7 separate regions of the Homo sapiens genome follow, and regions 2, 3, 4, 5, 6 and 7 are each linked to region 1. Evidence: promoter capture Hi-C in 16 types of primary human blood cells and fetal thymus (Javierre and others, 2016). All regions are on one chromosome and are shown on one strand. The core of a region is centred on a gene start or on the middle of the fragment in contact, and the rest is flanking DNA. Distances in the headings are between cores, read along the strand shown. Region 1 holds the start of SSTR2 (somatostatin receptor 2). Region 2 overlaps SLC39A11 (solute carrier family 39 member 11). Region 3 overlaps SLC39A11 (solute carrier family 39 member 11). Region 4 overlaps SLC39A11 (solute carrier family 39 member 11). Region 5 overlaps SLC39A11 (solute carrier family 39 member 11). Region 6 overlaps SLC39A11 (solute carrier family 39 member 11). Region 7 overlaps SLC39A11 (solute carrier family 39 member 11).

Region 1 (4,133 bases), core at 965-3,464:
CATAGACTGGCAGCAATTAAAACAGAAGCTGTACAGAAACTGTGGTTAGTATCCCTGGATTAACTTGGGTAGTTTCGTTATCACTTCTAACCATCTGGTCAGTTGGTTTAATTCTACAGAGCCAGAATCCTATTCAAGCTGCCTGCAATCAGAGTGTACCTTATCATGGGGATTTCCAGGGGCCCATCTATATAACATGAATGGTCACACTCCAATGTCTGAGTAACACGGAATCCCCCTGGGTTGGCAGAGCCCCTGTCTAAGAGCTTTTGGGCTAGGAACGATGATGGTGCAGGGAGTATGAGAGAGGGTTGAGTGTTGCTTTCCAGCCCTAACTCGGTCATTTTAACTGGAGTTTGAGTCAACAGGACAGAATTGCTTAATGGTAGCAACAGACAGGGTTCAGAGTCTTGGTGAAGGTGGTGGAGGTGGGAGGCTGGGGAGCCGGCTGAGAGTGGGAAGGCTCCTCTAAGCAAGAAATGAGCTTAAATCATGGGGAGTCTTATTTAACAAAGAAGTCAGCCGCTTAAGGTCTTCCAGAGACTTCTGTTTCATTTTTGTTTCAGAGAAAGAATATTCCAATGCCAGGCAGACAATTCTAGATGAATTGTGGTTAAATTAAATGTACAAGGAAGTTTCGTTTTCTGCATTCTTTGTTTTTCCAGCCCAAGAATTGTTAGATGCTGGAAATGGCTAGTGGTTGGTTTCCTCTGAACCATGTCCAGGCTCTGTAGAGAGGAGGGTGAGAATGGTCTCACGCACCTGCCCCCCCCGCCCCCCTTTTACATAGGGGCTGTGATTACCAGCCCAAGAAATGAGTGTTGGGATGGCGACCCGACATCAGGGGAGGTCCTAAATCCTACTCAGCTTCAGTTTCTCCTCTCCCCATCATGTTTCCCGCATTCACTTCCCACCCCCCGCCTCCCTCAGGGCCTGCAGAACCCGGCTTGGTCTCTGTGCGGCTAGAGCGAGAGCCCCCACTGGCAGGGTGACAAAAGCCCCTGAGGGCCACCGCGGCGCGTGAGCGCCTGGGAAAAGCCGGGGCGGTGCTGGCCTACGGGGTTGAGAAATGGAGGGGCGAGTGTCAGGACCGCGGAGCCGGTTGCTCCCGGCTGGCACAGAAAGTCCTCCTCCTGGCCATCCAACTCGCTGATCCTCAGAGCAAGGGTTTCCCAAAGAACTCTGTGCCATTTCCAGGAAGACGAGGCAAGAGCGGAGATTGTGGCGCCAGCACGCCCAGTATCGAAACGCACAGCAGGGGTGCCGGGTGTGGGGGGGGGGCGCTGAGGACAGAGACATCGGGGCGCAGAAGACAGTCGCTTGGGGGACTTGGCCAGCGGCTTTTGGGCACGGCCTATGCAGTGGTTTTTTCTCTCCAAACCTAGACAAACTGTCCTTTCTGTCCCGAGGTGGGGGACGGGGACGGATCCTAGATCGTTCAGCGTCTAGGGAGAGAAGCCCCTCTTTCTCCGCTCTGCGCCCGCCGCCTGCCTCTGGCAGGCTCGGATCTCCGGGTGCGCTCCCGCAGGAGCCCCAGCTGGCATCTCACGGCCTCGCTCCCCTCGCGCCAGGTCTCTTTTGTAGGGGGCTGGGAGAGAAGTTGTCACCCGTCGCAGCTACCTGAAATCTCGGGCTAAAGGGCACACGCCACGCACACGGGCATGAGGCTGCGAGGACACGTCCGTTCCAGCACACTCTACCCACAGCCCCCTTACTCAGGCAAGGGTACCCGTTGTCGTTCATTCCTACTACAATCACCCCAAAAGGCACAAGAGCGGAGAATCACGCACCGGGACCTAAGCTCAGGCACTCGGATGGGCACACCACCATCAGCGCAGATGCACACAGGTGCCCAAGTGCGCTTCTCGCTCCCTCCATCTCTCTTATCACACACACACACACACACACACACACACACACACACACACCCCTCACCTTTGCTTTTCCGCTGCAATCCGCTAGCTCCGGTCTCCGACACCCAGCGGCTGTCCCCGAGCCAGCTGGGCGCCGGGGCGCGCAGCAGCTTGGCTAGCGCCTGGCGCCGGACGTTTGGGGTTCCTGGCTCCTCGACCCTCTTGTGCCGGCTCCCGCTAGCCCCTCGCACGTAGAGAGCTCCCCTCGCCCGCAGACCCCCGGCGCCAAGCCTCAGACTGGGGCTCTGGGCGCTGGTGGTCTTGCGAGCGCGCGCGCATGGGTGGCTGCGCCGCTGGGACTGGCCCAGCCAGCCCGGGCCCCTCGGCACATTTCCCCACGCCCCCCTCCCGCTACGTCACAGCGGCTTCGCTCCGCCCCCCCAACCCCTCCTCCCGGGTCCTGCAGAAGGACAGGGGTGAGACCGGCTGAAACGCCTGCGGGTGGCCGCAGGCAGAGCTTACAGACAGCCGGGGAGCGGGGAGAGAGGGGACCCGCCTGCGGGGGCGTAAAAGGTTAAGCGTTTTCGGTCTCCTCAAGACTCATGGCAAGGACAAGCGCTATTTTCCCTCTGATTTCACAGAGTCGATTCCCTTCCACCCATATATTCTAGGCAGCTGGAGTGGCGGCCGGGGTGACCCAGACTTATACCGGGACCTCTGTGATTTCCTTAGCCAAACAAGTTAGCAAAGCTGTGTTTACCGTGGGCCAGCCCCGGGCGCAGGGCGCAGGGCCAGGCTAAGAGTAGGGAGAAAAAGGGCTCAGGGGATAGCGCTTCTCCATGCAGTTCCCAATGAGCGCAGGGAGTGTAAACCCGCACCTGGAGTCCAAGATTCAGTCCTAGGAGCCATCAGAGGGCCAGTGGACGTCGACTGGTCCCAGCTGTCCCTGCGTCCCACAGCTTGGAGGTGCAGCGGCCATACAGGTGGTCCCCTTGCTGTAGCCACGTCAGTCAGCACCTGCTGGTCTGACCCAGCACAGTCTCTCCTACATGCTGTGAGGGAGCAAAGGGGAGCAGGCAAGAAGTGGGAGTCGCATGGAGTTGCAGCTGTTTATTTTTGACTGTGATGATTCAGCCTCTTTTCCAATAGTTTAATAAGTCATAATCAATCCTGCAGCCTCCCCTTCCTCACCCTCCTCCAAGTACATAGGTATACACACACACACACACACACACACACACACACACCATCCTCAGTACAGTTTTAGAGGATGTGAAAACAGAAAGCAAACCCCAACTAGCTTTCTCTGTGAGCTGAGCTGCCTTGATTTGTCCATCCTATTATCTGATTTCCAATTCACCAGGGAAAAGTAAAAGTCCAGAAGCTGTGTGGCAGGTGGGGTGAGCCTTAGAGATAGATGAGTGACATGGAAAAGCAACCACCAGGTACAGCAGCAGCCAGCTCTCTCTTCTATCTGGGCCAAGCTGTATCTTGGGGTACCCACTGTGAGATGGGGATCAGGAGTTTCCATCTCTCTCTGAGACGTTGGTCATGATAGGGCTTAAATCTTGGCATCCTGGAGCTCAGGGTGAGATGGAAATTGAGCTGCAATTGCCTTAAGTTCCAGGAGTCAATCTGGGAGCCAGCATCTCTTTTAGACATGTGTATGCAAGTGGAAGGGCTGGGGTGGCTAGCTCACTGGAAGAGGGCTGTGTCTGCTCACCGTCAGTGGGAAGAGGGAGAGGCAGAGAGGTAATAGTAATATCAGGAGGGCATCGTGGAATTGTGCTCAGGGGAACTCGGCATCCTCTGGCCACACAGTTGCTACAATGCCTGTTGCCACCTCCAGTTTAAAACCAGTAATCTGACTGGTTTCCAGGAAAAGAAGGAAGAGCCAGGAAGTGCCCACTCTGCCCTCAAATTCCTTTCCTAAAAGTTCTCAAACTGTTAATACCAGATTTACGTTTCATTAAAAAAAATAATAACTGGAGCCAGCAGAGTCCGAGATGATGCTGCTGTTCTACCCTGGCTGCAGGGATGGGCTGATCGTGGAGGAGGGACAGCGCTGCCGCTGCCACTCCCTCGCCTGCAACACGTGCCTCTGTGTGCACTTCACCCACAAGGTAACAAATTGGAAGTACTCAAAGCTGAAAGAAGTGGATGATGGGCTTGGGGGAGCAGCTGCCTGGGAGGATGTTGACTCTACTGCAGAGCCATGTCCTCAATGAGAACCTCCTTGTGCTTACTACATGTAGCTTCAGACCCACTCTGCAGATGAGC
Region 2 (4,133 bases), core at 953-3,452, 490 kb after region 1:
CGGTAGGGGTGGGGAGTGACTGCTAATGGGTATAGCATTTGCTTTTGGGTGATAAAAATGTTCTGGAACTAGATTGTGGTGATGGTTGCACAACACTGTGAATATACACTAAATACCACTGAAATGTACACCTCATAAATGGTTAAAATGCTGAGTTCTATGTTATATTAATTTTACCACAATTCTTTTTTTTTTTTTTTTTTTTTTTTTTTTTGAGACAGAGTCTCACTCTGTCGCCCAGGCTGGAGTGCAGTAGCTCGATCTTGGCTCACTGCAACCTCTGCCTCCCAGGTTCATGTGATTTTCCTGCCTCAGCCTCCCAAGTAGCTGGGACTACAGGCATGCGCCACCACGCCCAGCTAATTTTTGTATTTTTGGTAGAGACAGGGTTTCACCATGTTGGCCAGGATGGTCTCGATCTCTTGGCCTCGTGATCCGCCCACCTTGGCCTCCCAAAGTGCTGGGATTACAGGCGTGAGCCACCGTGCCCAGCCAATTTTACCACAATTCTTTAACAAATCCTTAACGTGTCCTCTAAGCCCACCTCCCACCAGGCCATCCTCCACCTGCCACCCAGCCCAATCAAGATCAATACCTCCTGCAACATGTCTCTACACACGTTGGCCCCTTTGCCTCCAGTGGGTCTTCAACTCCTTACCTGGCCAGCTTCCTCCAGGAGCCCTTGAAGAAGCCCGAGGTGGGCGCGGCTGTCTCTATTCAAGTTCCAATAGCTGCTGCCTTCCTCCTGCAGAACAGGTTCCCTGGGGGGTTAGTGCCTTTCTCTGTGTCTGCGCATCTCAGACTCTGAGCAGCCAGAGGACAGGGATTCAAGCACTATTCTTTTATTTTATTTTTAATTGATAGGTAATTGTTGTCTATATTTTTAGCATACCTGTAGACACTGTGTAATGATCAAATCAGATTAACTGAGATACCCATCACAGCAAACGTTTATCTTTTCTTTGTACTGGGAACATTACAATTCTTCTCTTCTACCTATTTTGAAGCATACAATAAATTACTGTTAACTATAATTTCCCTACTATACTGTCAAATACTAGAATGTGATCCTTCCATCTTACTGTATTCTTACTGTACCCCTTAACCCACCTCTTGATCACTCTTCTCCTCTCTTCCCTCCCCAGCCTCTGGTAGCCACCATTCTACTCTACCAGCATGAGATCAACTTTTGTAGCTCCCACCTATGAGTGAGAATGTGCAACCATTGTCTTTCTGTGCCTGGCCTATTTCACTTAACATAATGGCCTCCAGTTCCATCCGTGTTGCTGCAGATGACACGATCTCATTCTTTTTATGGCTGAATAGTATTCCATTGTGTAAATGTACCACATTTTCTTTATCCATTTTTCTCTTGATGAACACAGGTTGACTCCCTGTCTTGGCTCTTGTGAACAGCCTCAAGCACTATTCTTTGTTGCACCCTGGATGTCGTCTCTGAGAGATTAGGAGCTCAGAAATTATTTGTGAATCGATGAATCCCTAAACTGCTTCATGATTGCTACCCCAAGAGCATGAGGCATGCTCTTGGAGTTTCTCTCTTTTTTTTTTCTCGTCCAGGCTGGAGTGCAGTGGCGCAATCTCGGCTCACTACAACCTTTGCCTCCTGGGTTCAAGCAATTCTCCTGCCTCAGCCTCCCGAGTAGCTGGGATTACAGGCGCACGCCACCATGCCGGGCTAATTTTTGTATTTTTAGTAGAGACGGAGTTTCACCATGTTGGCCAGGCTAGTCTTAAACTCCTGACCTTGTGATCTGCCCGCCTCGGCCTCCCAAAGTGCTAGGATTACAGATGTGAGCCACCGTGCCTGGCCATGTTCTTGGAGTTTCAAAGCAAGGAGAACATCCCTCCAGCCTCCACATTTCCATCTCTTACACATTTCTTTAGTACCCTCCTTCTCGCTGTTCACAGGGAAGGTATTTTCCCACAGTGGGGGAAAAAAAACACGTTGTAAATGGTGATTCAGTTCCTGAACTCCCCCACAAGCTTTACATAACCCACAAGGCACTTAAATACTTATAAACTATGCACACTTGAGTTAAATGGGCTTTTGTGAGCGGAACGGGCATCCAAACTGCCATTTATGGCAGCCCTTTATGGGAAGCTTTGCTGTGAGCTCAGGAAAGTTATAAATTTTTTGTATGCCCAAAATGCCATTGAAACATGGACCCTCTGCTTCTGTTTGTGGGATATTAGTTGATGAATGCATTTGACTGTCTTCCGAGATCCTCAAGGGAAAGGGCGCTCCTGCCAGGTTAAGCTTGGTATTCAAACTAAGAGGAGAACACGGGAGCACTGGATGGGCTTGTAGGTGGTGACGTTGTTTCCAAGACGACCTTGAGTATCAGGGGAAAGGCCGTCGGTAGCCTTCTCTCCCTCCCGCATTGTGTAAATGTACCACATTTTCTTTATCCTGCCCTCTACTTGCAATTCCTGGCCCTCTACTCTGCTGTGTTCTAGTAATTCTCTAGGGAGGAGGACCAAAATTGAGGGAGTCTTTCTAGCTTCATTTTCCCAATACCCCAAGTGTTCCTGGATACTATGCCTGCCGGGGAGGGGCCCACGGTCTGTGCTTTAACAAACCCTCCAGGTGATTCGGATGCACACTCGGGTTTGAGAACCACTGCTCTTGGTGAACCTCACTCACAAACCCTCATTTGCCCTGATGTTAAAAACATGCCATTTAAAGATGGCCGCGTCACTTCCGGCTTTAAATTTGCTCAGTTCAGGTTACAGATGCATTCAATTTGAGATTCTCCCACCCTCTTCTCTTTTTTCCTAAAGGAGATCTGGGTTCTCAGAATGTCCCATCTCCTGACCCGAAAGGAGTGGCATCTGACCAGATGTTGGCCTTTCTCCTTGCAGCATCTGCTGTGATGTAGCAGGGCCCAGCTGGTGTTGGCCATGGCCTCCTGTGTGCCTCTTTTGCTGGTCCCTGTGTTCCCACTGTCATCTTTGGCCCTGGATTTTATGTACTTAGCCTCTTCCAACCCCAGCCCTGCAACTCCCACCCCACTAGGGTCAGGAATGCTGGCTGCCTTCCATCCACAGTGCTAGGATGTGATGGGTTCTGAGAGAGGCTTCCCTTAGGTCCAGCCACCTGACACCACCCTCAGCCACTGCGGCTGCTGCTTGTGCAGTGGCTACCCAAGGCACCCAGGTTTGGTGATTTTACAAGGACTCACAAGACTCAGCACATAGTCACAGCTGAGATGTATTCTAGTGAGAAGCTACAAAGCAAAAGCAGCAAAGAAAAAAGGTACCCAGGGAAAAGTCCGGAAACCACCAGCACAAGTTTCTAAGAATCTTCTTCCAGGGGAGTTACACCAGATGGGCTTCACTCCTCCAACAGTGAGGTGGGACGGCACACGCACAATACTGTCGACCAGAGAAGCTCATTCGAGAACCAGTGCCCGAGATTTTATTGAGGGTACTGGTCACATAGGCACCCTCTGCCTAACGTATACCAAAAGTCTAGACTTCCATAAGTGAAGCGAGCATTTGACGTAAGCAATATTAGTTGCACAAACTGTTTAGGTACAGCAAGGCTCTCTTCTTATTTAGGGAATTTTTATATCTGTGTAGGGAACTGTTTACCATTCAAGTTCCCAGGAACTGCCTAAGGGCCAACTTTGTAAGCAGACATTTCTAAGGACAGCAGTCTCACACCTGCTATGTTTACTCTTTCTGCATGCTGCTGCTGATTGTGATGACGATAAGAAGTCTAGCAGTAGCATTTATTGAGCATCTAGTGTGTACCAGCTCTTTCGATGTGCTAATTTCATCTACTTCCCAGGTACCATATTGAAATGTTGTGATCATCGAGGTTACAGATCCCATTTGCTCTTGGAACCACCCTCTCTCCATCTGCCTTCAAAAAAATTATCTAAGATTTCTGTTGAAGGCACCCTTCTGGGATTTTTACTTCAGAAGGTATCAGGGGCTGGGGTCCCTCCCTGGACATCCCGCAGTGTCTAGGTTTCCATCACATCCATGCCAGCCCTCTATTTCTATTTTGCTTTCGACATGTTTACTTTTATAATTATTTCCTGTTTCAGGCAAATAAGGCAGGTGTTTCTTTATAGCCATATTACCATTTTATTTGAAAAAAAGAG
Region 3 (4,133 bases), core at 1,100-3,599, 460 kb after region 1:
ATAAAGGTTGGGGGAGAGGGAGCAGGACCTTGATAACCGCCTTTTCCCCACTGTCTTCACTATAAAAGTATCATTATAGTGTACTTTTGCGTCTCCTTTAATGACATGTTTCTAGTTTTCATTTATATCATTTGCAAGACACAGAAACACAATTCATATTGTCCTAAACTAAAAAGAGAATTTACTGGTTCATGGACCTGAAGAGTCTGGGATGCTGGTTTCAGGCACAGTTTGGTCCAGAGGCTCAAATTATATCATCAGGTCTCTGCTTATTTTTTCTCTCCCTCAGCTCTGCTCTCTTCAGCATAGGCATGATTGCCCATTTCTAATGGTGTTAAGATGGCTTCCTGCTAATGACTCCAGCCCTATATCCTCCCAGGTTCAAGTCCAAACAAAATAGACCGTCTCCTCTCAATAGCTCCCTTGGAATCCTAATAGACCAACTTGGGCCACTTACTCCCTCTTGGACCAATCACTGTGGCTAGAGAGATGGAGTTGCACCCATTGTTCAGGGTAGGGTCACAGTTTATCCCTAGAGCTTGGACTGGAGCTCCAGCTAAACCACATGGACTGAGAGGGGAAGAGGACCCCCCAGGGAACTGCCAGGTCATGCTAAGGTATGAGAGGGGACCTTCATACCCCTGGTCCTTCATGGTTGATTCCATTGGTTTGTGGATAAAATGCACACAGATGGCGCTTTGGCTTTTTTGAGGGACAGCATCACTTTATGCATAGAGTCTACCATAAAATTCAGGGCCTTGCAGGACCCACTGAAAAGCGTATCAAATAAAAGGGATTTGTCAACATACATCCTCATCTTTACTGTTATTCCTTAGGACCAGTGAATCTAGCCGCATCTTTGACTTCTTTAATCTAAATGATGGGAAAACTGGGGAGCTGTTCTCCAGAAAGGGAGCCTAGCACCACATTAGAGCAAGGACCCTGAAGTCAGACTTCCTAGGTCCAAATCGAGGTGCTGCGATTTACTAGCTACATAGTCTTGAACAAGTGAATCGAGATCTCTGTACCTTGGTTTCCTCATCTGTCAGTGAGGGATGATAATAGTTTATCTCCCATAAGAAGATTACATGAACTAGCAAGTTGATATGTCTAAAATGCTCCATACAGTGTTTGGGCAAATAGCAGGTATGCTCTGGTAAAAATAATAGTTGTTGTTGTTTTGGAAAGAGTCTCACTCCGTCGTCCAGGCTAGAGTACAGTGGCATGATCGCAGCTCACTGCAACCTCCACCTCCCAGGTTCGAGTGGTTCTCATGGCTCAGCCTCCCAAGTAGCTGAGACTACAGGCGCATGCCACCATGCCCGGCTAATTTTTGTATTTTTAGTAGAGATGGGGTTTCACCATGTTGGCCAGGCTGGTCTTGAACTCCTGGCTTCAAAGGATTCACCCACCTCGGCCTCCCGAAGTGCTGGGATTACAGGCATGAGCCACCACCCCCGGCCAACAGTTTGTCTTATTTTGAGGTGGGTTCCTCTGTTTAGGGATCATCAAACAGAGAAATTAATTTCTAAGCCTCTCCCAAAGAGACACTGAGATAGAAGATAGCTAAACATCTCCTATGTTCATTCAGGTTCTTGGTTTCTGAAAACTCTGAGTTGATCTTGGTTGGCCATGGATGTTAACAGTTTTCCAAAATGGATTTAAGGACTGAATCTGTCTGGACTTCAGTTTGGCCATGGAGAAACAGATCATCAGAAAAGTGGGGGCAGGAAACCTTACTCTGTGTGTTTCACGGGCATATTGTCAAGACAAAGAATGTGGGTGACATGCTTGGAACCCTGTGGGGTATCGCCCCCCAACCCCCCATGTTACCTTTACCCCAGCAAGAAAATGCCCATTCAAAGGTGTTCTTTTGCTTACTGTGTCTCCTTATTATAATAGTTCTCCTATTTCTCCCCACACGGAACTGCTATAATTAAAAGGCCATCAGCTTTGCATATCATTACTTGGCTATAAAAATTTCTGCAAGTTGGAACTTGAGTGTAGAGGGATTTGGCTTTGATGCACAGGGTTTATGTTGCTGTCTTTCTCGCTCCTAAAGCACATACACACCAGCACATCAGTCCCACATGCAGGACTTTTCATTGCCTTGTGGTTTGGAAGGGATCCACTCCTGATGGAAACCCCCTAATATCTCAGGAAAAGCCTATAAAATAAACCCAAGTGGGAGGAAGAGGCAGACAGATGAAGACCTGCCAACCGACAGCTCTGGTGTCTGGTGATGGGGCGGTAAGGGAGCTTAGGAGATCAGGCAGCCCATTTATGTCTTCTTTCTTTCTGACTCCCAACCCCACAAAGACAGAGGGAATCAATTTTTTTTTTCCTTTCTTCCATTTTTTTTTTTTTTTGGTGAGATGGAGTCTCACTCTGTCACCCAGGCTGGAGTGCAGTGGCGTGATCTTGGCTCACTGCAACCTCCACCTCCAGGGTTCAAGCGATTCTCCTGCCTCAGCCTCCTGAGTAGCTGGAATTACAGGCATGCACCACCACACCTGGCTAATTTTTGTATTTTTAGTAGAGACGGAGTTTCACCGTGTTGGCCAAGCTGGTCTGGAACTCCTGACCTCAAGTGATCCACCCGCCTCAGCCTCCCAAAGTGTTGGGATTACATTTGTGAGCCACCATGCCTGGCTGGAATCCACTCTTAAAATTCCCTGGAAAAGAGGAATTCCCATACTCTCCCATGGACCCTTCCTGCTTTTGTGCAAATATGACTGCTAGAACTTGGCACTGTCGTGTACTTTGATGACTCATTTGGTAGAGTGGAAGACCGTCGGTCTCTAGAACTTGGCACTGTTGATCATCTGGTAGATAATTCTTTGTTGTAGGCGGGGGGTGCCCTGTGCATTAGCCTCTTCCCACTAGATGCCTTCCCCCTAGTTGTGACAACCAAAAATGTCTGCAGACATTGCCCACTGTTCCCTAGGGGTCCAAATTGGCCTGGTTGAGACCACCACCCTAGGTAGTACATGCTTCAAGCACTTGAAGGCCTACTATGTGCCAGCCACTGTGCTAGGTGCTGCCTAAAGAAAAAAACAGTAGCCTCCTATCTTTGGACTCAGTAGAACACAGGAAGATAGGGTTAGCTTGCGAGTTTATGAGAGCATGTGGATTGGTATATCCAAGGTTAGTGATCTGTCCACCCTGAGAAATGTCTATGTTCTTTTTTATTTTATTTTATGGAGACAGAGTCTCACTCCATTACCTAGGCTGGAGTGCAGTGGTGTGATCACAGCTCACTGCAGCCTCCATCTCCCAGGCTCAGGCAATCTTCCCACCTCAGCCTCCTGAGTAGCCAGGACTACAGGCAGGCACCACCACAGCTGGCTAATTTTTAAACATTCTATAGAGATGGGGTCTCTTTATATCACCCAGGCTGGTCTCAAACTTAACTTCTGGGCTCAAACAGTCCTTCCACCTCAGCTTCCCACAGTGCTGAGATTACAGGCGTGAGCCACCACACTCTGCGTGTCTATGTTCTTTTTTTTTTTCTTTTCCTTCCTTCCTTCCTTTTCTTTCTCTTTCTTTCTTTCTCTTTTTCTTTTTTTTTTTTTTTTTTTGAGACAGAATCTCCCTCTGTCTCCCAGGCTGGAGTACAGTGGTACAACCTCGGCTCCCTGCAACCTCCGCCTCCCAGGTTCAAGCAATTCTTGTGCTTCAGCCTCCCCAGTAGCTGGGACTACAGGCATGCACCACCACACCTGGCTAATTTTTGTATTTTTAGTAGAGACAGGGTTTCACCATGTTGGCCAGGCTGGTCTCGAACTCCTGACCTCAGGTATCTGCCCACTTCGGCCTCCCAAAGTGCTGGGATTACAGACATGAGCTACCATGCCTAGCCAGGTCTCTGTTCTTTAAACTGCATCACTCACTATCTCTTGAAAGAGCTCTTTCTGGCCCCACAGCCTTCCTGCTTAGCATCGCCACACAAGGAGATGGTCCCTCAACACCACGTCCTTGTGTGCCCTCCTCAGTGGAGAGCGGAGCTAGTTTTTGTCCTCCATAGATCCCCACTTCTGAGGCTTGATCAGCTTCCTCCACACCTCCCTCTCTTCAGGCGAAATTCCAGGTCTTTAACCTCCTGGAAGGCATTGTTGGCAGTGCCAAAACCA
Region 4 (4,133 bases), core at 824-3,323, 440 kb after region 1:
ATGGTTGATTAGTCTACATTTGGATGTAGTATAGCCCATTAAATTACACATGGAGGCATCAAAACCAATTTTAAGATATATGTTTGCCTCTCTGATCAAAGAGGAAAGATCGTAAGTCAGATAAATCCTTTCCCCTGGCTTATACATATATATGTTGATATATTAACAATTATTTAAGACAGCAGCCATTAGTTAACAAAGCAACCCTTTATTTAGAAAGAAAAGTGGCATATTTTGACATATTTTCCTGGTCATTCATCAACATTAGCTAGTAGATGAGCATGTCTGTATGTGTAAGATACGTTACATGTGTGTCTACCTGTCCAAGCAGCCCCTCTACTTTTGCTCCAGTAGATTGTGTGTGTGTGTGTTTGTGTGTGTGTGTAGACAGGATCTTGTTCTGTTGCTCAGGCCGCAGTGCAGTGGCACAATCATAGCTTGCTGCAGCCTTGACCTCCTGGGCTCAAATAATCCTCCCTCCTCAGCCTCCCAAGTAGCTGGGACTCCAGGTGTGCATCCTGTAGATTATTGAAAGCATGCTTGCAGGTTACCTGTAGAGAAGTTACAAAGGAGACTTCATTGTTGTGGCGGGGAGGAGTCTCGGAGAACTCACATGGAAACATTTTAATTATAGTTCACTCTAACATCTTTGAACAAGCAAGCTGTCTTCACTGGCTCCCTCCAAGCCTCCATGCAGCTGCTCTTGCAATGCCTAGACCTGCCCCAGGCAGCACTCAGTCTCCCAGACTCGTGGAGCATCCTAGGGAGACCCTTACTTCCTCAAAGTTGCTGATCTTAACCTCCTCCCTGCCTAGCAACTTGGGTCTCAGCATTCCCAGCCTGGTCTCCCTGGAGAGTGGCTTTTAGCCTGAGAATTGGAGACCCAGCCTGAGGACACTAAGGTACTTGTGGAGAAAATACTTTGACATCTTGATCCCACTGTCCCCACCCTTTCACAGCAGAAAAATGCCCCTCCCACCCTTGAGTCACTTCGGCACAATCCTGTTCTATTCTTTATCTGCAATCGCACATTGTGCTCTCAATTTTATTTTATGCAGGCAAGCTCTTCTCTTGAACCTATCACACTACCCTGTCTGGAATTCTAGAGTGATCTATTGGCAGCTCCTTCTCTTCAGTTTTCCTGGCTCATCCTGCCACACTACACAGCCTCACCTTACAAAGAGACAGTGGAATTTGAAAGTGCCGGCTGGCAGCGGTGGACAGACGGCGCCACCACGCGGTAGCTTGGTAGCATAGGTTGCTAGACACAGTACCAGAAGGAAAAAGTTTGACCAGGAAAGGTGACTGTGTGTCGCTATCCAAATCTATGTTCGGCTTGTACAGAAGGTGTATCTGCAGAAGGCTAAGGACCATATATGTAAGTTACATGTAACTTTGGACATGTCCAACTTTGCTTTGGATATTTTTCAAAATAGTAACATCCTTATATTCTGGCTGTTATACCCTGATTTTTCACCCCCCATTTAATTAAGCATTTATAAAGCTCGTTATTGTCTTATTTTCCCATGTTGGGAATAAAAGTATAGCTTTTATGTGACCCTACGTAGAGGGGTAGAAATGTGAAATGGGCCAATTAAAGTGTCAGAAGCTACTCCAAGCTTTTGATGGTCTACCCTAGCAGGGGAGCATAGAGGTGCGAAAAGTCCTCACTTCCAGACACCCAAAAATCAGTTCAGTTTTTCTTTTTGCCATTTGGAGGGGAGAGGGTGACATTTACTTTTCTAGTGACTTAAAAACATAATGTTATTTATTGCATGCGTTCTGGGAAGTGAAGAAAGTGGGCCAGGCCAAGGAAGTCCACCGGATGCATGGGCAAAGCCAGACCAGGATCAAACAGGTTCTCACCATCCTATGTAATTTGCCATCAAGTCATTCATCAGTCTGTCCATCCATCCATCCCTTCAATCCACAGAGATTCACTGAGCACAGGATTCATCTTTTTGGAGAGAGAGAACTTAGAATAGTTATTTCATCAACTGCAACTGGGAAAACAGGCTTGAATTTGTAGGACTGGTGGGCTGGACATGACTTTGAAAGATCATCTTGCCTCTTAAGTATTTTTTTTTTTTTTAGCAGTTGAGCTTTTGGAACAAGTTCCTAAGCGAACACTCTGGATGGAATAGATACCACCCTTTCCATGAAAGTTCCCCTCTGCACTTGGCAGAAAATCCCTGATCTAGCCCAAGTCTCTAATGTTATAAGTGAAGAAACTGAAGTCTCAGAGTGGAAAAGGAAGTCATCAGGGATGACTCAAGTCAGAGCTCCTGGTTCCTGAACCCTGGGGCTCTTTCCTCCCCTCTAAGAGCTGATCTGTCTGTAGCTGGTCATGTTTCCATTTCAGAGGGTGGAGGGAACATCCAGGATGTCTCAAAAGGTCTGCTTTCCTCATTGTCTCAGCTTCCCCTCTGAAGCTCACTCCCCCCCACCGCTTTCTTGATGTTTTTTCTCTTGTCCCATTTGAACTGCAAGAAGTGCCCCTCCCATTCTTGGACCACCTGGAAGCTTTTGAGCAAGCTTTTGGAAAATTATCTGTTTTGTGCATTGCAATAGAAAACTCAAATGAAAGGAGCCAGATGGGATTGAGGGCTGGGAAGCGAACAGGGAGAAATGAATCATCTTGGGCCTCATCTCCAGAGTCCTTGTCCAAACCTGGGCAATTCTTATCCCCCTCTGTCCCTCTCTTTCCTCTCCCCTTCTCCCTTCCCATGGCTTTTTATGATAATGCTTTTCAAGCTCCCAATAAGAGCAACGTTTTACAGAAAAAAAAAAATAAAAGGGACAGTGTTTTGCCAGTAAGATGTGTGTTCCCGTGTTAGCACCACTGATCGCCCAATAGTTGCACGTCTAAGATTTTTCTTTGACTGAGAAATCCTACCAGGGAAGAAGAACTACTCCTTGGAGACTTTGTCCTCCACATCCCCAGTTCTGTGCTGACAAATACAATCCCGTCGTTACCTGGAAACCTGGTGATTTTCCAGAACACGTGGAGGAGAATGAAGAACTTAATAGCCATTTGCCTGCAAAATATGCCATCATGGAGCCTGGTGCTTGTGAATCTCTGGGTTGAATTGGATAAACAGATGGACAGATGGGTGAATGATCTGATTACCTGCTAACCTGAGATTGCCCACAAGGTTCCATCTTGGTCTGGCTTCGTCTGTGTCTGGCAGACTTTTACGACCCACTTTCTTCACTCCCCAGGACTGATGGAACAAATAACATTATTCAACGGAAGTCATTCGAAAAGTAAATGTATCACCTCAAAAATGGCAAAAAGAAAAATCTAGTTGATTTTGGGGTGTTCTGAAGTTAGCACTCTTCACGCCTGTACTTTCTTCTCCTAGCACAGACAATCCACATGTAGGGTGATGGTTGTGTGTGTTTGGGGTTGGCCTCACTGGTATTACAAATCCAGTTACTGTCATCCATCTCTTCCTGCTACTACTTACTCTGAAAGATGGTTTTCCTTTGAAGGATGGAGAAATTCTCTAATCCAGACCTCCTGACAGCTAGGCTGCAAACACACACACACACACACACACACACACACACTCTTACACTCCTACAAAGACAAAGAAAATCCTGGGAGGGATTTTAAGACACGTGCTCATTTCAGCACTCTGTCCTCCTGGTGACATCTCTCTATGAAGCATCTGGGACTTCACCTGACAAGCACCTGACAACCTGACTGAGCACTCGGCCCTTACTGTATGTGCCTCAGTTTCTACGTGCATCATGTGAGAAAGGCAGATTGTATCCATGGCTATGAGACTGTTGGGCTTTGTTGGACAATGAAGACGTCCCCCAAATATGTAAAGACTGACAAACGACGGCCACCCTTTATATTTTTCAAAGTGAAGGCATTGAAGGAAAGATGCAATCGTAGACCGCCATGGTCAGTGAATTATTTTATGAGAGATCACCCTTCTAGAAAGTGCAGCCAGGTGCAGTGGCTCATGCCTGTAATCCCAGCACTTTGGGAGGTCGAGGCTGGTGGATCACTTGAGGTCAGGAGATACAGACCGGCTTGGCAAACACAGTAAAACCCTGTCTCTACTAAAAAATACAAAAATTAGCCAGGCTTGGTGGCAGGCACCTGTAATCCCAGCTAC
Region 5 (4,133 bases), core at 1,194-3,693, 410 kb after region 1:
TCAGCAGCAGCATCAGATACTGGAAGATGATGGAACAATACCCTCAAGACATTGAGCAGGCCAGGCACCATGGCTCATGCCTGTAATCCCAGCACTTTGGGAGGCCAAGGCAGGAGGATTACTTGAGCCCAGGAGTTAGCGACCAGCTGAGGCAATACAGTGAGACCCTGTCTTAAAAATAAATAAAAAGAAAAAAGATACTAAGGCCCGGGCGTGGTGGCTCACACCTGTAATCCTAACACTTTTGGGAGGCTGAGGCAGGCAGATCACCTGAGGTCAGGAGTTCGAGACCAGCCTGGCCAACATGGTGAAACCCCATCTCTACTAAAAATACTAAAGTTAGCTGGGCGTGGTGGTGCGTGCCTGTAATCCCAGCTACCTGGGAGGCTGAGGCAGGAGAATTGCTGGAACCCGGGAGGCGGAGGCTGCAGTAAGCCAAGATCACGCCACTGCTCTCCAGCCCGGGTGACAGAGCGAGACTCCATCTTAAGAAAGAAAAAACAGAAAAAAAGATATTAAGGAGAGGTAACTTGGGATGCAGCACTTTCAAGTCAAGCTATTAAGTCACAGAGAAAAATCAAAATTTTTCTTTTCTATGTCAGGGTTCAGAAGTTTATCACCCACACATCCCGTAGGAGGTTAAGGAGGCCCCCTGACAAAATGAAGAAGGGACACAAGGGGATAATATGACATAAGAAAGAGGGCATCACAGATACTGTGTGAGTCCTGCTCTGCGAGACACCTGAGGAGTCAGTGGCACAGAGGCAGGAAGTAGAAGGATGGTTGCCAGGGGCTGTGGGAGGGAGGAGGAGGAATGGGGATCTGGGTTCAGTGGGTGGAGAGTTTCAATTATGCAAGATAAAAAGAGCTCTGGAGCCGGGTGCAGTGGCTCATACCTGTAATCCCAGCACTCTGGGAAGCCAAGGCAGGCAGATCACTCGAGGCCAGGGGTTCGAGACCAGCCTGGCTGACATAACAAAACCCTGTCTCTACCAAAATTACAAAATTAGCCGGGCATAGTGATGCATGGCTGTACTCCCAGCTACTGGGATCACTGAGGTACAAGAATCACTTGAATCCAGGAGGCGAAGATTGCAGTGAGCTGAGATCATGCCATTGCACTCCAGCCTGGGCGACGGAGCAAGACTCTGTCTCAAAAAAAAACCAAAGAGCTCTGGAGATGGGTGGTGGCGATGGCTGTACAAAAGTGATTGCACTTAATGCCAATGAATGTACACTTAAAAATGAGGAAGATGCTCAATTACATGTTATTCATTCACATTTTATCACAATTAAAAATGGTAATAAGAAAGGGAGGAAGGAAGGAAAGAACCTAATTAAAACCTAGACGATGAGAGGATGGGGGCCACGATTCTTAGAACTGTCTTCTTCAAATGGGAAGAGTTTGAAGCTTTAGGATTGTTTTTCCTTACCTTCATATAGCAACCTGATTATATAATCATATGTTAGCACACCAATATTGTACGCTCACTTTTTTGTTTTGAGATGGAGTCTCACTCTGTCGCCCAGGCTGGAGTACAGTGGTGTGATCTTGGCTCACTGCAGCCTCTGCCTTCTGGGCTCAAGTGATTCTCATTCCTCAGCCTCCCAAATAGCTGGGATTACAAGCGCCCACCACCACGCTCGTCTAATTTTTGTATTTTTAGTAGAGGCGGGGTTTTTGCCATGTTGGCCAGGCTGATCTTGAACTCCTGACCTCAGGTGATCCTCCCGCCTTGGCCTCCCAAAGTGCTGGGATTATAGGTGTGAGCCACCATGCACAGCCTCCTGCCTTCTCTTTGAGCTAAGCCATAATGCCAGCTTCTCAGACATCATCTTGGCATGACCAACAAGGCCATGACCACACGGGGCCTATCCCAGGGCGCTGACAGGCTGCCGTCTGACACCTGAAGCCTGACAATTGCTGAACTGGGATGTGTAAGGAAGGCAGTTTTTTTTTTTCCTCCATTAACAATTGAAATACTTCTGCTTGTAGGAAAAAATGCCCCTCCCTCCCTTGGATACATACGTTGTGGTATGATGCCTGCCCTCCATGTAGCAAAACATACTAGTGATCTGAGACTTCAGAATCTTTTTCTTGCCTGGATTTTAGAAATACTTTGGTGGGAATCACATGTGGGGAGTGATAAATGAACCTGTATCTTAGGTTATTCATCATCCTGAAGGAACTGCCAGAGTCTAATTTTGTTCGAAAGTCCTCCAAGGGAATTAAAAAAAAAAAATCCTTTCCTCCAGTTTTTTTAGGCCCTCAAGAACATGCAAATTACAAAAACATAAATAAGTCCTCCCCACCCCCCACCCCACCTCCAGAGGTATTCCATAGTCAAGTGTGTGCTAGAGTTCATGATGCCCATGTACGGCCTGTGGGATGGGGTGAGGCTCCAATCACAGGCGATGTGGTTGTGGTTCCGAGGTATCTGGCCCTAGGCTGCCTTTCCCTTTGACAAGGCAATCGGGTCCAACCTGGGACCCAGACTGCACGACCTCTTCATGTGAACTTGGGGGAGGAATAGCAGGGATCAGTGGCCATCCACTTCCTGGGGATGTGAGACCCTCTTGTGGGATAATTCCCAGGGTGACTCTCTTGGCTCCCAAGGGGCACAGAATGGGCGCCACCCACCTGCTGCAGAGGTTCACCTGATTCCTCGACCCATCTGGCTTGTGCCTTGCCCCAGGAATCCCCAGTCTCTTTGTGGAGAACTCCTGGCATTGATCTTTTCATGAGCCAGGTGAGAGGCTGGGCCAATGGAGCCTGTGTCTCTTTGTGCGTGTGCTCTCAGCTGCAGGCCTTCCCAGCCAGGAGGGATGTGTGGCTGAATTCCTGGTACGACTTCCATCTAGTGTTTTACGAATCTGAGCCTGGAGTCATAGAGGTGCTTTCAGCCATGCTTTCCCCTCTTCCTCCTGGAATGGTCTACCCACCTCAGAGGCAGCATTTTCCTAGGATCAAGCAGAGAGATCCCTGTGACCAGTGATTAGAGACCTCCTGCCTTCGGTGTGCAGTGTGGGGCTGGGGACTGCTCCCACTGTCTAGGGTGGGGTGGCACTTAGCAAAGCCTCCATCTGCAGCCCCGGTTTCCCAAGGGGACCAGAGAGCCTGCCCACCTCTGCTGCCCAGGGCCCACTTATCACAAAATAGGCTTGTCTTGGGAAAAATAATTCCCGTCTGACCACACTACTCATTGCCTCATGCTTCCTTCGTCCTGTGTCCTCATATTTACAGAGCTGCTTAGGTTGTCCCTGCTTTCTAAGCCTCCCAGACAACTTTGTTGTGAATATACAAGGTTCCCCAGAACATAAGCCTGTCCACTTTCATACAGTGAATCTGTCAGATCCAGACACTTCCCTGCCTGCCGTGGACTTTGGACGTAGGGAGAGGAAGCCCAGTGGCCAGGTGATTGATGAGGCTCTGACTTCAGAGTCAAGGAACTTTGCTACCGGGTTGCAAGCTTTTCTACACCACGGCTTCATTGGTGGAACAGAGTGTTTGGGAGCAACAGATAGCAGCCCTCCCCACTCAAAGGGCACAGGGATTTCATGATAATTCCCTGCTGGGCAAAGCAGAGGGAATCTTGAGTTTTTGTGTCTTCCAAGATGGCAGCTCTTCTGACGGCAGGTTCCCCCACTGAGTCAGAACCTACCTCACCTGCCTCTTTGCTTCTGCTTAGTCCCTTGACCTCAAAACTAACAACTCCCTTGGTTATAAGCAATTATTCATTAAATAAATAAATAAAAACCAACAACTGTGTGTGCTCAGCTCGGCAGAAAGAGGCCCGGAGGGTAGACTGCGGTGCCCTTTCTGGCCCCTCTCCCGTACTTGGTCTGTCCTTGGGCCTGCAGATATACTTCTTCAGATTCAGGGCAAACCCAGGTGTGGACGACCATGGTGCAAGGTCAGGGGAGTTGGCTAGAGGCATGCATCTGGGCATGACACGGAGCTCGTTAGTTGGAACAGCTCGGAATCTTCAATGCCAGTATAGGCATTCTCTCCCTTTTTCTCTGAGGAAACACAGAGATCTGATCTTTGTCTGGTTATTGAGAACTAAAGCAAATTGAAATTGACTCCGAGATGTGGGTGTTTAACCAGATGCCTTCACCTGTTGTTTGAAGAT
Region 6 (4,133 bases), core at 694-3,193, 370 kb after region 1:
AACAGAAGGATTGTGGAGTCAGTGTGAGTCCTCACCGCGCTCGCTGGCTTGGTGGGGGCTGGTTGCCTCTGCTGTATTCTCCAAGGCTTTGCTGCCTTTTCTCCAGCAAGCTCCTTTCTTATGATGGGTGATTTGTACTCATGGACTGTGTGATGGTGATGAGCAGGAGCTTCTGAATTTCCTTTCTAGGTGAGAGCAGGTGCTGGGACCCATTGTGAGCTGTGTACAGTGACTGTTCCCAGGCGTTCCCATCAGCTCCAAGGTGCAAAATCTCATTTTCTCAGGATGGGTAAAGCTTCTCTCAGGAGAATGCCACAAACCTCAGGCAGAGCCTGATGCTAACAATGGCCTAGATTTTGAAGGCTGTTATTACAGTTAGAGGCAGGACTATGGGTCCCTCAAGCTTTCTTTCAACCTGAAGACTCTTTGTTCTTCTCTGTATACTGGCCGGTGTGGTATCAGCTGTGTCATTTGTAACCCAGCCTTGCTGTGAAGGGGGAGAAAGGATACAGGAGTCAGGTTCTGCAACTGCCAAGGTACACTCCCCTAGCCTTAATCTTAGAGAAGCAGAATTTGTTGATCATTGTTATTCATTTCCTTTCTGGGCACTGTATTCCATTAATTCAGATAGAACGATGTGCACATCAAGAGGCATTTTCCAGACTGGGTGTGGCAGCTCACGCCTGTAATCCCAACACTTTGGGAGGCTGAGGCAGGAATATTGCTTGAGGCCAGGAGTTTGAGACCAGCCTGGGTAACATAGCGAGACCCCATCTCTGTGTTTTTAAAAAAAAATTAAAAAAAGAAGCATTTCCCTCTTAAAAGCTAGAAATCTGGTACCCTTAGTCCTTTTCCTCCCTGTCTATTTCTCTATTCCACGCAATCCAATCTGCCATCACATGTTATACATTGTATGAAAGAAAGAAAATCTCTCCCTTTCAAACATAAACACCTTAGGGTACCAGGCAATTCATGTAAACACAGCAAGTCAGCTAATAAAAGACAGTAGGGAGGGGTGGGGTCTGTGGCTAACTGGAGAATGCTTTCTCAGCTCTAGGACTTAAGATGTGCCAGCCAAAACCTGTCTGTCACCCTTGTTGCATGGCACCCTGGGAATCTGTGACCCTGCCTCTCTTCTTTGATCATCCTGCTTCTCTGTCTCAGGGTGTACAATAGCCTTTGTCTGGTGCTTTGCCATAAGCCCATCCTCATTCTAGCTTTTCCCACACCATCCCCCAGAATTATCTTCCTAAAATGGCAAATCTGCTCCTCACTCCCTGACTTACAGGCCTCTGTTGACTGACCAGAGCCTCCAGGATGCAGTCCAAACACCTTGGGAATGAATATAAAGCCTTTTGTAATTTGCCCGAAATGCTCTGTTTGTATTTTTGTCCCTCGCCCCCACCCCGCCGGCAGTAGGGAGCATCCTGAGCCTTGTTTTGATGTTATCTTTGTGTGTCTGGTCCTAACATAGTCTCTGCAAAAAGAGTCAGTGCCATATGCTAGTGAATGAATGTGTTTGTGCATGCTGCGCACAATGGGCAGTGTTTATGTCCTTATTAATTTCCAGTGGGGTGTGTGGAGGAGCTGGTGAAGGAGATGCAACCCCCATATAAAGGAGCATTTAAGTCAGTGGGGGAAGACCCCTGACCTTAACCTCCCACAGCCTCCGCGACCTGGCCTGCATATTGACCCAGGAGGGATCATGGCAGTTCTTACAGAGGTGTGCAGTGTGCCTTGATTAAAGACAGTGGGAGACAGGATAGAACTGTGATTTAAAACTAGAGCGTGGACTCTGGAGCACAGGAGCTTGGGTTCAAATGCTAGCTCTATCACCTCCTCTCTCATACTTTCTAAGGCCTGAAATTTCATGTGCTTCCTTGACACCTTGGAGCCTCACAAAACCTCAAAGACTTAGCTGCGAGTTCCCTGGCTCTGGCTAGATTTCTTCCCACCCAGTAGGAAAGGCTCCCCACCTAGGTAGTTCCACATCAACCAGACCAACTGCACCCAGCCCAGTCCTCAACTTTCTGGGTTCTACCTCACTGCCTGCCAGCAGAATTCTTCAAACAAGCCAGCCACATCCTCCTGCGGGAACTAAGGGTCACCTCACCCTCTTGTCACTACAGAACCTGCCTTGCACAGCCCCTTCTGGTTCACTGTGTGCAACCTTTGAGTGGCCCCACATGGCCTGCGATGTTCTCCTCTTCTGAGTTATGTCACTAGTCTGTGCAGCATTGCTTGTCATATGTTCAGCTGTCTCACACTATTTTCATACTATTTAAGGTGAGGGATGTCTCCCTCACCACTGCAGTGACTAAAGGGGGTCAGAACAACTTGTGAAAATGACCTAACCCTCTGTGCCTCGATTTTCTTCTCTGAGAAATGAGAAGTTATCATACTACATGTGTTAATCCATTCTCATGCCACTATAAAGAACTGCCCGAGACTGGGTAATTTATAAAGGAAAGAGGTTTAACTGACTCACAGATCTGCAGGGTTGGGGAGGCCTCAGGAAACTTACAATCATGGTGGAAGGGGAAGCCAACATGTCCTTCTTCGCATGGCAGCAGGAGAGAGAAGTGCCGAGCAAAAGGGCGAAAAGCCCCTTATAAAACCATCAGATCTTGTGAGAACTCACTTGCTATCATGAGAACAGCATGGGGGGACTGTCTCCATGATCTAATCACCTCTCACGAGCTCCCTCCCCCAACACATGGGGATTACAATTCAAGATGAGATTTGGGTGGGGACACAGAGCCACACTATATCAGTACCTTTATCACAGGTTTGCCATGAGCATTGAATGAAATAATGTCTATAAAGACTTAAAACAGTGCCTACACACAGGAAGCACTGTGGAAGTATTTGTGATTGCAATTTGCTATTTTTGTCTTAGTGCAGTGGCTGTCAAACTTTTTCCTTTGTTTGTTTGTTTTGAGACAGAGTTTCTTTCTGTCACCCAGTCTGGAGTGCAGTGACACTATCTCAGCTCACTGCAATCTCTGCCTCCCAGGTTCAAGCGATTCTCCTGCCTCAGCCTCCTGAGTAGCTGGGACATGGTGTGCACCACCACGCTCGGCTAATTTTTGTATTTTTGTAGAGACAGGGTTTTACCATGTTGGCCAGGCTGGTCTCAAACTCCCAACCTCAAGCAATCTGCCCACCTCGGCCTCCCGAAGTGTTGGGAATCCAGGCATGAGCCACTGTGCCCAGCCGGTTCTCAAACTTAACATGCATCAGAATCACCTGGAGAACTTTGCTGTGTCCCACCCTGAGAATGTCTAATTTAGTAGGTCTGAAATGGGACCTGAGAATTAGTATTTCTAAGTCTCTAGGCAATGCCGATGCTGCTGATCTGAGGCCTCCACTTTGAGAACCACTGGATTCGTGTAAATATCTGCAGGTGAGGGAGCTGGGGATTTGTCTTCAACGTGGCTAAGTTGCTACATGGATTGGCCTCACCATTTGCCTTGAAGCTTTCCTTCTTCCTTCTGCTCAGGGTCCCACTAACTGTACATGTAAATGTGATGCAAATTCAAGAAATTCATTGTTTTTGGCTGGGTGTGGTGGCTTACACCTGTAATCCCAGCACTTTGGGAGGCCGAGGCAGGCGGATCACTTGAGGTCAAGAGTTTGAGACCAGCCTGGCCAACGTGGTGAGACCCCATCTCTACTAAAAAATACAAAAATTAGCTGGGTGTGGTGGCACATGCCTGTAATCCCAGCTACTCAGGAGGCTGAGGCAGGAGAATCGCTTGAACCCAGGAGGCAGAGGTTGCAGTGAGCCATGATCGTACCACTGCACTCCAGCCTGGGCGACAAAGCAAGGCTCTGTCTCAAAAAAAAAAAAGAGAGAGAGAGAGAGAAATTCATTGTTTTCTTTGAAAGATGGATTCTCTTATCTTCTCATTCCTTGGAGAAGCAGCGCTTCAGGTCTGTCCATGGTGTGAAGAATATCCTGGCCAGAGAAAACCACCATCTGGTGTCTTTGTATTCCAGAAGGGTGCGGTTTTGTTGTTCAGATGAGCACTGCCTACTTCCTCACCATGTTCTGTTTATCCAGGTCACATGGTTTGTATTTCACATGTTTGTTTGTGGGCAACCAGGATGGATTCTTTCTCACAACCAGA
Region 7 (4,133 bases), core at 514-3,013, 350 kb after region 1:
TTTTGACTGTGATATGAGGCCCCGTTGCTATTCCATTCTGCCTTGCTCATCAAGAATTACTTTTAAGTTGCTTAAAGGCACATTATCTTCTTGTGTGGCTAACCATTTCTTTTGCAATCTGAATGATGCAATTAAATTGCCTAGACATCTTTGTTATACATTGTATCCAACCCTAGACTCTAGATTCTAAATCATTCAAATGTACCTTAATTTTTATTGTTGCTCTGATTTCAAATAGAAACCAAAATGTCTAGGATACAGCAGTGATGATTCTTAAAGCTGACCCTGGGAGAAAATCTACTAACGGATAAAGTTTGCCAGCCCATCAGGTTGACTGCCCAGATGCTTGTCTTCCCTCCGAAAGGATCTCTGGTTACACTAACATGACCTTGGGGAGCAGCTTTCTCTCCAAGCATAATAGTATCTTATTTTTTCTTATTTTTCTGGCCAGAGAAAATATAATATCATTTATACTAAGGCCAAGTTTTTGTGGGGGAGACAAAAAGACAGTTTATTTAGTGATTCACTAAGTTCATTGGTAGAAATAACTCTCTCCAAAGCCTTGTATTGTTACACAGCTTTGCTGATAGGATTTTTTATTGTGGATGCAATTTCATCACTTTATAAATATAAGGCTTTGCTTTAGATTCACTATTTTTATGGCAAAGTTACATTCTCATCTAATAGCATGTGTTATATTCATTGCACTAAGCTAGTTGAGTATAAAAGACATTGGTGATGTGGTTCCCTTATCATCTGGTCAGTAGTAGGAGGATTAAGAGCAGAGAAATCATGTGTCTGGTTGAAAGGGAGGAAAGAGAATATTTTTGTTAAATAAAAAACAAAACCAACAAACTTTTCCCAAGTGGACAAAGAATTTTAGAATTTGGATGAACCTGAAAGATAATATAGTTCACCTCTTTGTTGTAAGAGGAAATTGAAGCTCACAGAAAGTGTGACTCCTCAAAGAGCACACCACTGATAGTAGAACAGGGAGAAGAAAGACTAAGCTATGCATTTTAGATACAGCATCTCAGTTACTGCATCTCTGACAGGCAAAGATGCCCAGCCTCTCCCTTCTGAGATCCAGGTGGATTTCTGATTAGGTAGAACTTTTACCCTGGAAAACTATTTTTCCACAAAGCTTTAAAATTATAAACAGTGATTGCCATGGCCTGAATGTTTGTACCCCCAAAATACCCAGTTTCCAATGTGATGGTTAGGAGGTGGGGCTGTCAGGAGGTAATTAGGTCATAATGGTGGGGCCCTAGAGACTGGATTAGTGCCCTTAAAAGAGAGGCCCCATAGAGTTGCCTGACCCTTTCTACCATGTGAGGATACAGGAAGAAGTTGGCAGTCTGACACTCAGAAAATGCACCCTCCCAGACAATGAATCTGCTGGTGCCATGAATTTGGACTTCCCAGCCTCAAGAACTGTGAGAAACAAACAATTGTTGTTTGTAAGCTGCTCAGGTATTTTGTTATAGCAGTCTAAACAATGTTTTTTTTTTTTTGCTTTTATTCAAATCAAGTTTTAACATATATACAGTAAAACAAATCTTAAATATACAACTTAAAGAATTTTTACGGGCCAGGCATGGTGGCTCACGCCTGTAATCCCAGCATTTTGGGAGGCCAAGGCAGGCAGATCACCTGAGGTCAAGACCAGGCTGGTTTGAGACCAGCCCAGCCAACATGGTGAAACTCTTTTTCTACTAAAAATACAAAAATTAGCCGGATGTAGTGGTGTGCACCTATAATCCCAGCTACTCAAGAGGCTGAGGCAGGAGAATCGCTTGAAACTGGGAGGTGGAGATTGTAGTGAGCCAAGATCATGCCACTGCACTCCAGCCTGGGCAACAGAGTGAGACTTTGTCTTAAAAAAAAAAAAGAATTTTTACATATGTATATCCCATATAACCACTATTGAGATCATGATACAAAATACCCTAGCAACTCAGAAGCATTCCTGATAGCTCTTCCTAAGCAGTAATTTCCTCTAAGAGATAATTAGTATTCTAATTCTTTTTACCATAGATAGGTTCCACCTGCTCTGGAATATCATTTAAATGGAATCATACTGCACATTCTGTTCTGTAGCCAGCTTCTTTTGCTTAATGTGACATCTCTGAGGTTCGTCTGTGTGCATTGCAATAGTTGATTACATGTTTTTTACTATGCAGTATTCTATTGTATTTATATGCTACTATTTGTCCATTCTTCTGTGAATGGATGCTTGGGTGTTTCCAGTTTGGGCTATTAGGAGAAAAACCACAATGAGTGTTTTGTATTTGTGTTTTGATGAACACACACTCATTTTTCTTGTATATGTACCTAGGGGTAGAATTGTTGGGTCATAGCATAAGCATGTGTTAAGCTTTAATAGGTAAACCAGTAAGTACTATTTGAGAATTGGGGAAAGATATTTTCTTAAGAGAGTATTCAAGTATTATTATTACTAGAGTTTTCTTCATTTTCTTTTCTTTTTTTTTTTTTTTGTTGTTTTTGTTTTTGTTTTTGAGACAGAGTCTCATTCTTTCACCCAGGCTGGAGTGCAGTGGCATAATCTCAGCTTATTGCAACTTCTGCCTCCTGGGTTCAAGCAATTCTCCTGCCTCAGCCTCCCAAGTAGCTGGGATTATAGGTGCCCACGCCTGGCTAGTTTTTGTATTTTTAGTAGAGACGAGGTTTCTTCATGTTGGCCAGGCTGGTCTCAAACTCCTGACCTCAAGTGATCTGCCCACCTCAGCCTCCTAAAGTGCTGGGATTACAGGTGTGAGCCACCACGCCCAAACTCTTCGTTTTCAATTAAACAAACAAACAAACAAAATCTGAGGCTTGGGATAGTTAAGCAGACCTTGTTTAAATGTGGCAGATTTTAACACATGCATTTCTGCTGCTTCCTAAAATACCGTTAAAATGAAAGTAAGAGTCTCTCTCTTTTGGACATACCTTTTTAATGCCATACTGTTACTCCAAGATGTGATGAGTGATGAGAGGTCCTCAGATATTTGAACCATGGATGCAGAAATGGACAAAGAGTAGAGAAAGATGGAGTCCAGGTGATTGCAAAAGGGAAGCCACGAAGAAGCAAGCTGAAATGTCCTGCATAAACCCTAGGAAGTGTCGAGATCCTGAGGCTCCAAACTTGGAGTAGAGATGGGATCGCAAACAGGATGGTTGGTTGTGATCTGTATCAGGAATCCTTAGAGCTCATCCCACACCAAATAACAGAACAATTGCCGCTCCTGTACCACGGCAGGAGAAAAATTTGTTATCCAGATAAATGAACCAAGAGAGGTATCTGGAGAAAGTGAATCCCAGGAGAAGGTGGGCCTGAGAGGGCAGAAAGAAAGAGAGAGAGAGAGAGAGAGAGAGAGAGAAAGAAAAGAAAGAAGATGATCTAAGCCGAAATTGGGAATAGTGAAACCAAGATTATATCCTCCGGGGAAGAGAGGAAAAGACTGCTGGACTCTGCTGCAGGATCTTAGAGAAATAATCTCCAAACTGTAACCACCCAACATGTTCTTCTTGCCCACAGCACAGATAAATCCAATCCACTGAGATAATGTTGTTTCAGTAGAGAAAGAGTTTAATTAACATAAGGACAGCCAAGTGGAAAGAGAAGACAGTTTATTACTCAAATCTGCCTCCCTCAGAAGTTAAAGGCTAGGATTTTTATGGATAATTTGTTGGGCAGGGGGCTTGGGAATGCATGCTGCTGATTGGTTGGGGATGAAATCATAGAGGTGTGGAAGAGTCCTCATGTGCTGAGTCCGACTCTGGGTGGGAGCCACAGGACAGGATTGCTTAGGAATCACAGATCCAGGTGGGGTCAGTCAGGTGCCAGAATGCAAAAGTCTGAAAAACATCTCAAAAGACCAATCTTAGGTTCTACAATAGTGATGTATAGTGTTATCTATAGGAGCAATTGCAGAAATCACAAATCTTGTGACCTCTGGCCACACGACTCCTGAGCAGCAAGGGATTATAGAAAAACAAGCTAGTGGACATTTGCTGGCTGTCATTTAGCTATACCTACATTTTAGCAGAATTCAGGCCCCTCCCGTAATCCTAATCTTGTAGTCTGCACTTAGTCTTACAAAGCCAGTTTCAGTCCCTGAACAGGAAGG

What was found. Contacts are between HindIII fragments. The CHiCAGO score rates a contact against its expected background, and 5 or more counts as called.
Region 2: a contact is called between a fragment that was not itself captured here and the fragment with the promoter of SSTR2 in region 1, in 1 of 17 cell types (fetal thymus). The highest score is 5.1, in fetal thymus.
Region 3: a contact is called between a fragment that was not itself captured here and the fragment with the promoter of SSTR2 in region 1, in 4 of 17 cell types (total CD8 T cells, megakaryocytes, non-activated CD4 T cells and 1 more). The highest score is 5.4, in total CD8 T cells.
Region 4: a fragment that was not itself captured here is called in contact with the fragment with the promoter of SSTR2 in region 1 in 17 of 17 cell types (erythroblasts, endothelial precursors, naive CD4 T cells and 14 more); the score reaches 23.8 in erythroblasts.
Region 5: a fragment that was not itself captured here is called in contact with the fragment with the promoter of SSTR2 in region 1 in 4 of 17 cell types (endothelial precursors, megakaryocytes, erythroblasts and 1 more); the score reaches 7.2 in endothelial precursors.
Region 6: a contact is called between a fragment that was not itself captured here and the fragment with the promoter of SSTR2 in region 1, in 1 of 17 cell types (M0 macrophages). The highest score is 5.3, in M0 macrophages.
Region 7: a contact is called between a fragment that was not itself captured here and the fragment with the promoter of SSTR2 in region 1, in 1 of 17 cell types (erythroblasts). The highest score is 5.4, in erythroblasts.

What each region holds. Positions count from the first base shown.
Region 1 is chr17:73,163,091-73,167,223 of GRCh38, reverse strand. SSTR2 (somatostatin receptor 2) reads right to left here and starts at 2,214. Exons shown (of 2, transcript NM_001050.3): 1 at 1,936-2,214. It also overlaps the pseudogene POLR3KP2. RefSeq lists a silencer at 1,960-2,299 and an enhancer at 2,840-3,089. The HindIII fragment of the contact is 15,303 bases long and covers 1-4,133 here.
Region 2 is chr17:72,676,123-72,680,255 of GRCh38, reverse strand. The region is part of intron 7 of SLC39A11 (solute carrier family 39 member 11); the gene reads left to right. Among named protein-coding and RNA genes, the nearest start is that of LINC00511, 38 kb to the right of the region's middle. The HindIII fragment of the contact is 156 bases long and covers 2,125-2,280 here.
Region 3 is chr17:72,701,176-72,705,308 of GRCh38, reverse strand. All of the region lies in intron 7 of SLC39A11 (solute carrier family 39 member 11), which reads left to right. Among named protein-coding and RNA genes, the nearest start is that of LINC00511, 63 kb to the right of the region's middle. The HindIII fragment of the contact is 7,138 bases long and covers 1-4,133 here.
Region 4 is chr17:72,722,762-72,726,894 of GRCh38, reverse strand. The region is part of intron 7 of SLC39A11 (solute carrier family 39 member 11); the gene reads left to right. Among named protein-coding and RNA genes, the nearest start is that of LINC00511, 84 kb to the right of the region's middle. RefSeq lists a silencer at 1,165-1,234 and an enhancer at 1,285-1,354. The HindIII fragment of the contact is 904 bases long and covers 1,622-2,525 here.
Region 5 is chr17:72,748,618-72,752,750 of GRCh38, reverse strand. The region is part of intron 6 of SLC39A11 (solute carrier family 39 member 11); the gene reads left to right. Among named protein-coding and RNA genes, the nearest start is that of LINC00511, 110 kb to the right of the region's middle. The HindIII fragment of the contact is 2,059 bases long and covers 1,414-3,472 here.
Region 6 is chr17:72,790,258-72,794,390 of GRCh38, reverse strand. The region is part of intron 6 of SLC39A11 (solute carrier family 39 member 11); the gene reads left to right. Among named protein-coding and RNA genes, the nearest start is that of LINC00511, 150 kb to the right of the region's middle. The HindIII fragment of the contact is 3,076 bases long and covers 406-3,481 here.
Region 7 is chr17:72,808,450-72,812,582 of GRCh38, reverse strand. The region is part of intron 6 of SLC39A11 (solute carrier family 39 member 11); the gene reads left to right. Among named protein-coding and RNA genes, the nearest start is that of LINC00511, 170 kb to the right of the region's middle. The HindIII fragment of the contact is 1,233 bases long and covers 1,147-2,379 here.